3 separate regions of the Homo sapiens genome follow, and all the other regions are linked to region 3. The links are contacts of gene promoters, found by promoter capture Hi-C in human tissues and cell types (Jung and others, 2019). All regions are on one chromosome and are shown on one strand. The core of a region is centred on a gene start or on the middle of the fragment in contact, and the rest is flanking DNA. Distances in the headings are between cores, read along the strand shown. Region 1 overlaps DHX38 (DEAH-box helicase 38). Region 2 overlaps DHODH (dihydroorotate dehydrogenase (quinone)). Region 3 holds the start of HP (haptoglobin).

What was found. Contacts are between HindIII fragments. The study calls those that stand out against the background at their distance.
Region 1: a contact is called between a fragment that was not itself captured here and the fragment with the promoter of HP in region 3, in 1 of the 25 tissues and cell types used here (thymus).
Region 2: a fragment that was not itself captured here is called in contact with the fragment with the promoter of HP in region 3 in 5 of the 25 tissues and cell types used here (bladder, liver, mesenchymal stem cells and 2 more).

The regions. Positions count from the first base shown.
Region 1 is chr16:72,107,505-72,110,223 of GRCh38, reverse strand. It overlaps DHX38 (DEAH-box helicase 38), which reads right to left. Exons shown (of 27, transcript NM_014003.4): 20 at 2,676-2,719; 21 at 2,425-2,579; 22 at 1,842-1,997; 23 at 1,617-1,751; 24 at 1,299-1,424; 25 at 714-809. Among named protein-coding and RNA genes, the nearest start is that of DHX38, 15 kb to the right of the region's middle. RefSeq lists an enhancer at 1,510-2,709. The HindIII fragment of the contact is 9,973 bases long and covers 1-2,719 here.
Region 2 is chr16:72,019,548-72,022,323 of GRCh38, reverse strand. It overlaps DHODH (dihydroorotate dehydrogenase (quinone)), which reads right to left. Exons shown (of 9, transcript NM_001361.5): 5 at 1,013-1,200. Among named protein-coding and RNA genes, the nearest start is that of DHODH, 12 kb to the right of the region's middle. The HindIII fragment of the contact is 9,035 bases long and covers 1-2,776 here.
Region 3 is chr16:72,053,099-72,055,798 of GRCh38, reverse strand. It overlaps HP (haptoglobin), which reads right to left and starts at 1,294. Exons shown (of 7, transcript NM_005143.5): 1 at 1,142-1,294. The coding sequence starts at 1,146. The HindIII fragment of the contact is 10,372 bases long and covers 1-2,700 here.

The sequences.
Region 1 (2,719 bases), core at 220-2,719, 54 kb before region 3:
GAGGCAAATACATCATATGGACTATTCGACAGGACAAATGACCTGGCTGCTCCAATAAATCAATGTCATGAAAAAAAGCGTGGGGTGGAGCCTGTTCTAGAATGAAACAGTTAACACACATAAGCAGTTGCAATGCCTGGATCCTAATTCAAGCAAATCGATCATAAGAAGTTATCTTTGAGATAAATGGAGAAATCCAAATGCGGACTGGAGACTTAGGTGACATTAAGTATTCATTTTTTTATGAGTGATAACGGCACAGAGGTTATATTTAAAATTTTAAGTCCTTTTAGTCAGAGACACATACTCAAGTATTTATGGATGAATAATGTATGAGATAAGCTTTAAAATATTCCAGAAAAAAAAAATGGATGTGTGTGGAGTGGGGTAGGAATAGTGAAATTGAACAAACGTTGACAATTATAGAGGCAAGGCAACGAATTCATGGTGGCCTGTTGTACTGTTTTTCCCACTTTCATGAATATTTGGACTTTTCAATAATGAGTTTTTTGGTTTTGTTTTTAAAGGCTCAGCCTACCAAACAACTGGAGTGGGTGGTGGGGAATCAGACAGACCCAGCCTGCTGGATCACAGCCTTTATGTTTGCAGAGAGAAGTAAGTGGGTTGGATGACCGCAAGTCTTCAATACCAAGCGGAGGGAACACCGACCCCACAGGCAAACAGCACCCCTGCGAAGAGCACAGAATCCTCACCTGCCGTGACTTGCCCGCCTGTTTCACGCTATAGAACATGGGGCCCAGCTCCGCCAGCCACTCCCCGTCCACAGCGGTCACACACTGCATATACTCCTGCGGGCAGAAGGGCAGGGAGGCGAGGGTCACAGGAGGGCCAATGTCCCTCCCAGAGTGGTTCCACAATTAGGAGCCACATGGGAAGGGCCCAATCCCTGGCCCTGCAAGGCTGAAAAAAGGAAAGGAAAAACCCCAGATACTCCCATCCAAACTCCTCCACACTTGAGAAAATGCCCCCAGTATCTAAAAGAAAAGGCCCAACCCCTCCGAAAATCCTTCTAATGACACCAAGAGGGGTTGCTCATCCCAAGCAGCAAGTGGGGAACAATCGTGCCCATGCAGCTGAGGTCAATGCAGTCTAGAGGTCAACCCTGTGCAGAGCTTCCCCAAGTCCCCAAATGAAAACCAACCTCACATGCCCCGCAAAACAATGCATGTGGCCTCAAGGCTCCCAGGCTAAAAGCTCATGCCAGAACGCAGTGAAGGGTTTCAAAGCCTGGCCAGACAGGGGGCCTGCATTATGCAAGTGCCTTGGAAAAGACTCACCTTGGTGGTCATGACCAACTCGTGATACACTATGTAATCTGGGGTGTAGCCCATTCCAAAAAGGGAGCTGGTGGGGTGCAAGTGGCAGGGCATCCCTGTGCGGATGTTCACGTACTCCCCGATTCCCTAGGGAGGAGACACAACAGGCAGCCACATCAGGAAAACAACACCCATTTGGGCAGCGACCCCATCCCTTAACACTCTTGACACAGCCTTTGGCGGAAGCCCAGATCTGCAGAACCACACCAGGACAAAGGAAGAACTTTGCCCTTATACAGGTATCAGGCTGGGAGGGGCTCACTGGGCTCCTGGGTTCACCTTGAGCTTGGCTGCTTGGTGGAAATAGGCAGCACAGATGCACTTCCTGACGATGTCCCAGTCAGTGCCACACGAGGCCAGGCTCATCCGCTGCTGCACCATGATGTCCTTGAGTTGAGCTCGCACCTCCCGGACCTAGGGCAGGAGACGGAGGCACCAGGAGGGAGCCCTCCTTTCCTCTCGACCCTCCCCTCATCCCAACATCCTGCTCATCCACCACTCTACCTTCCGCATGGCCTTAGCATGGATGAAATGATCGTTACACCAGATGGTGGAGTAATTATTGTTCTTCCACTGCAGGTAAACATTCAGGTAGGTCAAATGATCGCTCTCAGGAACAGCGAACTTCTCCCGGATTTGATCACTCTCCTCCTCTCGACCCTAGGAAGGGAAAAAGAACCTTCACTCTAAGTACAGGGGGGTCCAGGCCCACTGAGCACATCCCAGAGGTTCTAACACTACCACCTACCCACACATAGAACTTCAAACATGTCAATAGGTTGCCCTGACAATTTGAGAAAAATTAAAATAATTTTTAAAAAGGTCTACTCTAAAACATGAGGGCTCAAGAGCAACCATACTAGAAGATAAAAAATGCTCTTGCAAATTTCCAAAGCATTCCCTGAGAACCACTGGCCCAGCCCTTCCTTTCCCCTACCCCAACCTGCTTAACCGAGAACAGCAAAATCATTCTTCAGAAACTCTGATTCTGCCCTCTGTTCCATTTCAGTAATACAGAGAGAAGCCATTCCCCTCCCCAACACTTCCTCGAGCCCTCCGGGGAGAGGGGAGCCAGCCGCTGCCCCACCTTGGGCCTGTAGAAGATGGCTGGGACCGAGAGCATGGAAACGATGAGCAGGATCTCGGAGCTGCAGCCCATGTCACAGGACACGATGAGCATCTTGGACAGGGCAGGGTCCAGCGGGAACTCCACCATCAGCCGCCCGGTAGAGGTCAGACCACCTAGGAGAGATGAGCAAACCCGGATATTTGACGGGACAGTAGAGGAAAGAAGGAAGTCAAGCGCCAGCACCCATGAGGCTCCCGGGGCCGCCTCACCTGTGTTGTCCAGGGCCCCGAGGATCCAGAGCTGATACATAGAG
Region 2 (2,776 bases), core at 2-2,501, 33 kb after region 3:
CCACAGCCCTGCAGTGCAGCTGTGACCTACGCTGCAGGTCAGTGGGTTTCCACAATAGCGATCAAACTAAAGCAGAAACAATTTCTTTTCAGGAAAGCCAGCCCTCAGACGTGAGGAGTACAGTCGAGATGGATCCGATTCCATTCTTTTAGGCCAAGGGATCCCGTGGACATTGGCTAATAGCTCAAGGGTGTTTTAGACTTTTCTTTTCTTTTTTTTTTTTTTTTTTTGAGACAAGGTCGCACTCTGTCACCCACACTGGAGTGTAGTAGCATGATCACGGCTCACTGTAGCCTGCACCTCCCTGGGCTCAGGCGATCCTTCCACTTCAGCCTCCAGAGTATCAGGGACTACAGGTGTGCACCACCATGCCCAGCTAATTTCTGTATTTCTTGTAAGATGGGGTTTTGCCAAGTTGCCCAGGCTGGTCAGCTCCTGAGCTCAAGTGATCTGCCTGCCTCGGCCTCCAAGTAGCTGGGGCTATAGGCTTGAGCCACTGTGCCTGGCTAATTTTTAAATTTTTGTAGAGACAGGGTCTTGCTCTTTTGCCCAGGCTGGTCTCAAATTCCTGGGTTATAAGTGATCCACCTGCCTTGGCCTCCCATAGTGCTGGTATTACAGGCATGAGCCACGGTGTCCAACGTTTTTTAGACTTTTATTCCTAAAAGATAACCAGGAAATATTACCACATGTACTGGGTGATGAAGTCCTTCAGTTCACTCAGAGCTCTGGGCGCTAGGGTCAGAGTGACAAATGAGAGAGACGTGGTGTCTGCTCTTACAGACCCCGTGATTTATAGCAGCAGGGACAGATAATTTGTCACCGTCGCATATAATCAGTGTCATGAGAGGGGATCAGAGGGGACTCTGGGAAGGTATAGCCAGGGGTCCTACTGGTCTAGGTGCTAAGGACAGCTTCTGAGGGTGATGCTGAAGGTTCGCCCTGGAGAATGAAGGGGAGCAGGTGGGACAGGCTGGTGGGACAGGGCCTGGAGAGGGGTGCAGCTGCCCACCTTGGTCAGCAGGCGGCGCAGCTCGGCCTTTCCCTGAAGGCTCCGCAGCCCGGCAGTGTTGGGGCTGGACACATTCACCACCAGGTAGTCGGCCAGGGGGCCCAGTACGCGCACCCCTTCTGCGTAGTCCTCCGCGGCGTCCACTGAGGTCTTGTTCTTCCCCAAGTTGACCCCCAGAGGCAGTCCATCTGCAAACATCGCTGGTCAGGCCTGCACCCCGCACACCCTTTCCTGTGCCACCTTCTGAGGCTGCCCTTGACCAAACCACCTGTGGACAGCCGCGCAGGCCTTCCCTCCAAACCTGACCTGCCCGACACCGGCTGACAGGTGCTCAACTGCGGCCTGGGCCCGCCTGCTGACCAAAACCACTCACTGGCTTTGTCTAGCAAAGTCTGGGCAGCTACGAGGATGTTTTGCTGCATTTTGCCCTTTTTATTTTTAAAATTTTCATGGAAAATGGACAAATTACTGCAAATACTTGTGGGGCAAAAGATGGGCCTCATAAATTGAATAAAACTGAGAACAGAGAGAACTCAGTAGGCACATCAGGCCCGCAACTCTCACCTCAAGGAATGCTTGTTGGCCTTGGCTCGGTTGACTGGATGTACAGTTGCGAAGAAAAAACAAAATGAAAGAACATGTATAAAATACTGAAAAACAGGCCAGGTGCGGTGGCTCACGCCTATAATCCCAGCACTTTGGGTGGTCAAGGGCAGAGGATTGCTTGAGCCCAGGAATTCAAGACCAGTCTGGGCAACATGGTGAAACCCTATCTCTATAATTGAAAACTCAGCCGGGAGCAGTGGTGCACACCTGTAGTCCTAGCTGCTCGGGAGGCTGAAGTAGGATTGAGGCTCCAATGAACCGTGATCGCGCCACTGCACTCCAGCCTAAGGAGCAGAGCAAGACTCTGTCTCAAAAAAAAGAAAAAAAAAAAAAATATATATATATATACACATATATATATATATATATATATATACACATATACATATACACATATATATATACTGGAAAATGTTTTTTGTTTTTTTTTTTGAGATGGAGTCTCACTGTTGCCCAGGCTGGAATGTGGTGGCACAATCTTGGCTCACTGCAACCTCCGTCCCCTGAATTCAAGCAATTCTCCTGTCTCAGCCTCCTGAGTAGCTGGGATTACACGCATGTGCCACCACGCCCAGCTAATTTTTGTATTTTTAGTAGAGATGGGGTTTCACCATGTTGGCCAGGATGGTCTCCATCTCCAGACCTCATGATCTGCCCACCTCAGCCTCCCAAAGTGCTGGGATTACAGGCGTGAGCCACTGCAACCGGCCTAATTTTTGTATTTTTAGTAGAGAAGGGGTTTCACCATGTTGGCCAGGCTGGTCTCAAACCCCTGACCTCAAATGATCCGCTTGCCTTGGCCTTCCAGAGTGTTAGGATTACAGGCGTGAGCCACCATGCCCGGCCAAATGTTTTCAATTATCATGCCTAAAATGTAGAGGTGTAATTGTTTTCTAACTTATAATTTTAGTTCTCTGAGGAAAGGGACTCTCCCTCATATAATAACTGAGGGTACCCTGTATCTTAGGTGCTCCCTGGACAACCTGATTACTCCCCTAGCCTGGGCATCATTGTTAACACCTGCCCCTTTTTACTCTCAAGAGGGTCTCAGTTTACATGTAAGCAATTAGGTCAGCTTACTTAAAAATCCACAGGACTATCAATGGACTTGCATTTTGGACCTCCAGAAAAAATACATTTTCAGAAACACACTATGTG
Region 3 (2,700 bases), core at 45-2,544:
GGAAAGAGAAACCTCCCTCAGACACCGCAAAGATAGTGGTAATAAAATGTAGATAACTCAGAGATGGGAACTTTGGGCTTACTGTGCTATTCCTCTACTTCTTGATATTTTCCGTAATAAAAGGTTCCTTAAATATATAATTTTAAACACGTGGGTATTTCTAGTATTTTATAATAATTCACCTTTAGGAAATGGTATCTGAAACCCCAAAATGCCAGAAGGTTACCTGGAAGAGAACTGGTGTCCAAAAGCAGGACGGTGGCCATGGGCATTGACCCACAGGTGCCGTCTGCCAGTTCACCATCTCACTAACAAATGCCAACCATTCGGGCACTACTTGCTTCTATTAAAATAGTTTCTAGGCCAGACACGGTGGCTCATGCCTGTAATCCCAGCACTTTGGGAGGCCAAGGCAGGCAGATCACGAGGTCAAGAGATCGAGGTCATCCTGGCCAACATGGTGAAAGCCCGTCTCTACTAAAAATACAAAAATTAGGTGGGCATAGTGGCGCACGCCTGTAGTCCCAGCTACCTGGGAGGCTGAGGCAGGAGAATCACTTGAACCTGGGAGGTGGAGGTTGCAGTGAGCCGAGATCATGCCACTGCACTGCAGCCTGGTGACAAAGCGAGACTCCATCTCAAAAAAAAAAAAAGTTTCTAGTCTTATTATTTCAACATTTCAAAAAGTGTTTATTTTTATAAGATCTAAGTGCCTTAATTAGATGTATCCCAGGTATTAGTGTGTATCCCAGGTACTAGTCAATTAATTGTGTCATTCAAATGTGTTACTATTAGTCTTCCTTATTGTACATTTTTAAAGAGGAAAATATCTGCTAATAAATATACTCAGGATGCCAGGAAGCCTACCACGGGAGCTGATGACATACCCTATAAAGTCAAAAATGTAACCTGAAGGAAAAAGACACTCCTGAGAGTAAATCTTATCTCCTGGGAAAGACAGCAGCACTGTCTTCTATGGATGCAGAAAAGGAGAAGATTTAACACACTAAGCCCTTTGGTTCACTATAATTTAGCCCATTTGCCCGTTTCTTTGTTCTATTTCTGCATCTCTACCGATGTATGCAAAAAAGACTGAAATAAAGAACCAGAGGAAAGGCAGGAGGGAAAGCTGTGGACCCACCTCATCTTGGTTGGTCTTGCCTCTGGAAGAGCAGTGCTGTGGGGCATCTGCTGGTCTTTTTATGCTGCCACTAGCTCACTTCTCCCCCTTCTCCATTTCGTAATTCCTGTGTCTACAAACTTTGGCCCTGGTAAGGTCACTATCTTTTCCAGTAACAAAACCACAAACAATACCCCTGTTAAGAGTTGAGCTCTTGCTTCACACTTGATTTTCTTGTGATGTTCTATTACAAATCCCAAGAAACCTGGCAACTCTATGACCCACAAACCTGCCAAAGTATTTCCTGAAATCAGCAACTGGGCAGGACAGGGCGGCGGCAGGAACCATCAATCTGTCTCTTTATCTTGGAGGATTTTCACACTGCAGAAAGGCTCATTTTGAGTTTTTTCAAACCCATTGTAGACATTTCTGCAGCCTAGCTTAGGTGGGGCTCTAAAGAAAGTACTTCCTTTTCACAGTAATTTTCTCCACCTTGTGTGTGGCCATCTCCCTATTGCTTAAAAGCTCTCCAGCCTGAAATCAGTAAATGTGTTTATTGTGTCTTCTCTGATTGCTCTTTGCAAGAAATCACACAACTAGTTAAAGCTATAGTGTAGACTGACACAGACTATACTCAATGGCAGTGGTTCTCATGGTTTTATAGTCTGGTGATTAGCCTAAATAGGCAGATGAGAAAAATCAATATGTCTCAGTCAAATGTCTGCACCTGTGTGTATCCCAGGTACTAGTCAACTGAAACTTAGTAGCAACTCAATACAAGGTTGATTTATTCATTAAAAAGGGTTAGTTGTTCTTAAATTAGAGTGTACAAAAGAATTACTTTTGGATAATCATGGTGACACTGATATAATAGCAAAGTAACTAGAAACAAGACAAATGCCCATCAACAGGAGGAAGGGTCAATACTGCATTGTATGTGGATATAATGGAATATTATACAGCATAAAATGAATAAACTCTGCAAGAACATGGATCATCTTATAAACATAATTTTTGAAAGAAAACCGCAAGTTTCAGAAGATTACCTTCAGTATGATGGCAGTCTTCTAGAGATCAAAACCAAGTAAAACTTGGCAATGGATTCTTAGATAATGACACCAAAATCACCAGCAATCAAAGAAAAATTAGATAAATTGGGCTTCATCGGAATGAACATTTGTGTATCAAAAGACAGTATTAATAAAATGAAGACAGGCCAGGCGTGGTGGCTCACGCCTGTAATCCCAGCACTTCGGGAGGCTGAGGTGGGCGGATCATGAGGTCAGGAGTTTGAGACCAGCCTGACCAATGTGGTGAAATTCCATCTCTACTAAAAATACAAAAATTAGCCAGGCATGGTGGCGCATGCTTTAATCCCAGCTACTCGGAGGCTGAGGCAGGAGAATTGCTTGAACCTGGGAGGCAGAGGTTGCAGTGAGCCTAGATCGCACCACTGCACTCCAGCCTGGGTGACAGAACAAGACTCTGTCTCAAAAAAAAAAGTGAAGACAGTCTACAGAATGGGAGAAAATATTTGCAAATTCTATATCTGATAAAGGGTTGTTATCCAGAGCATATCC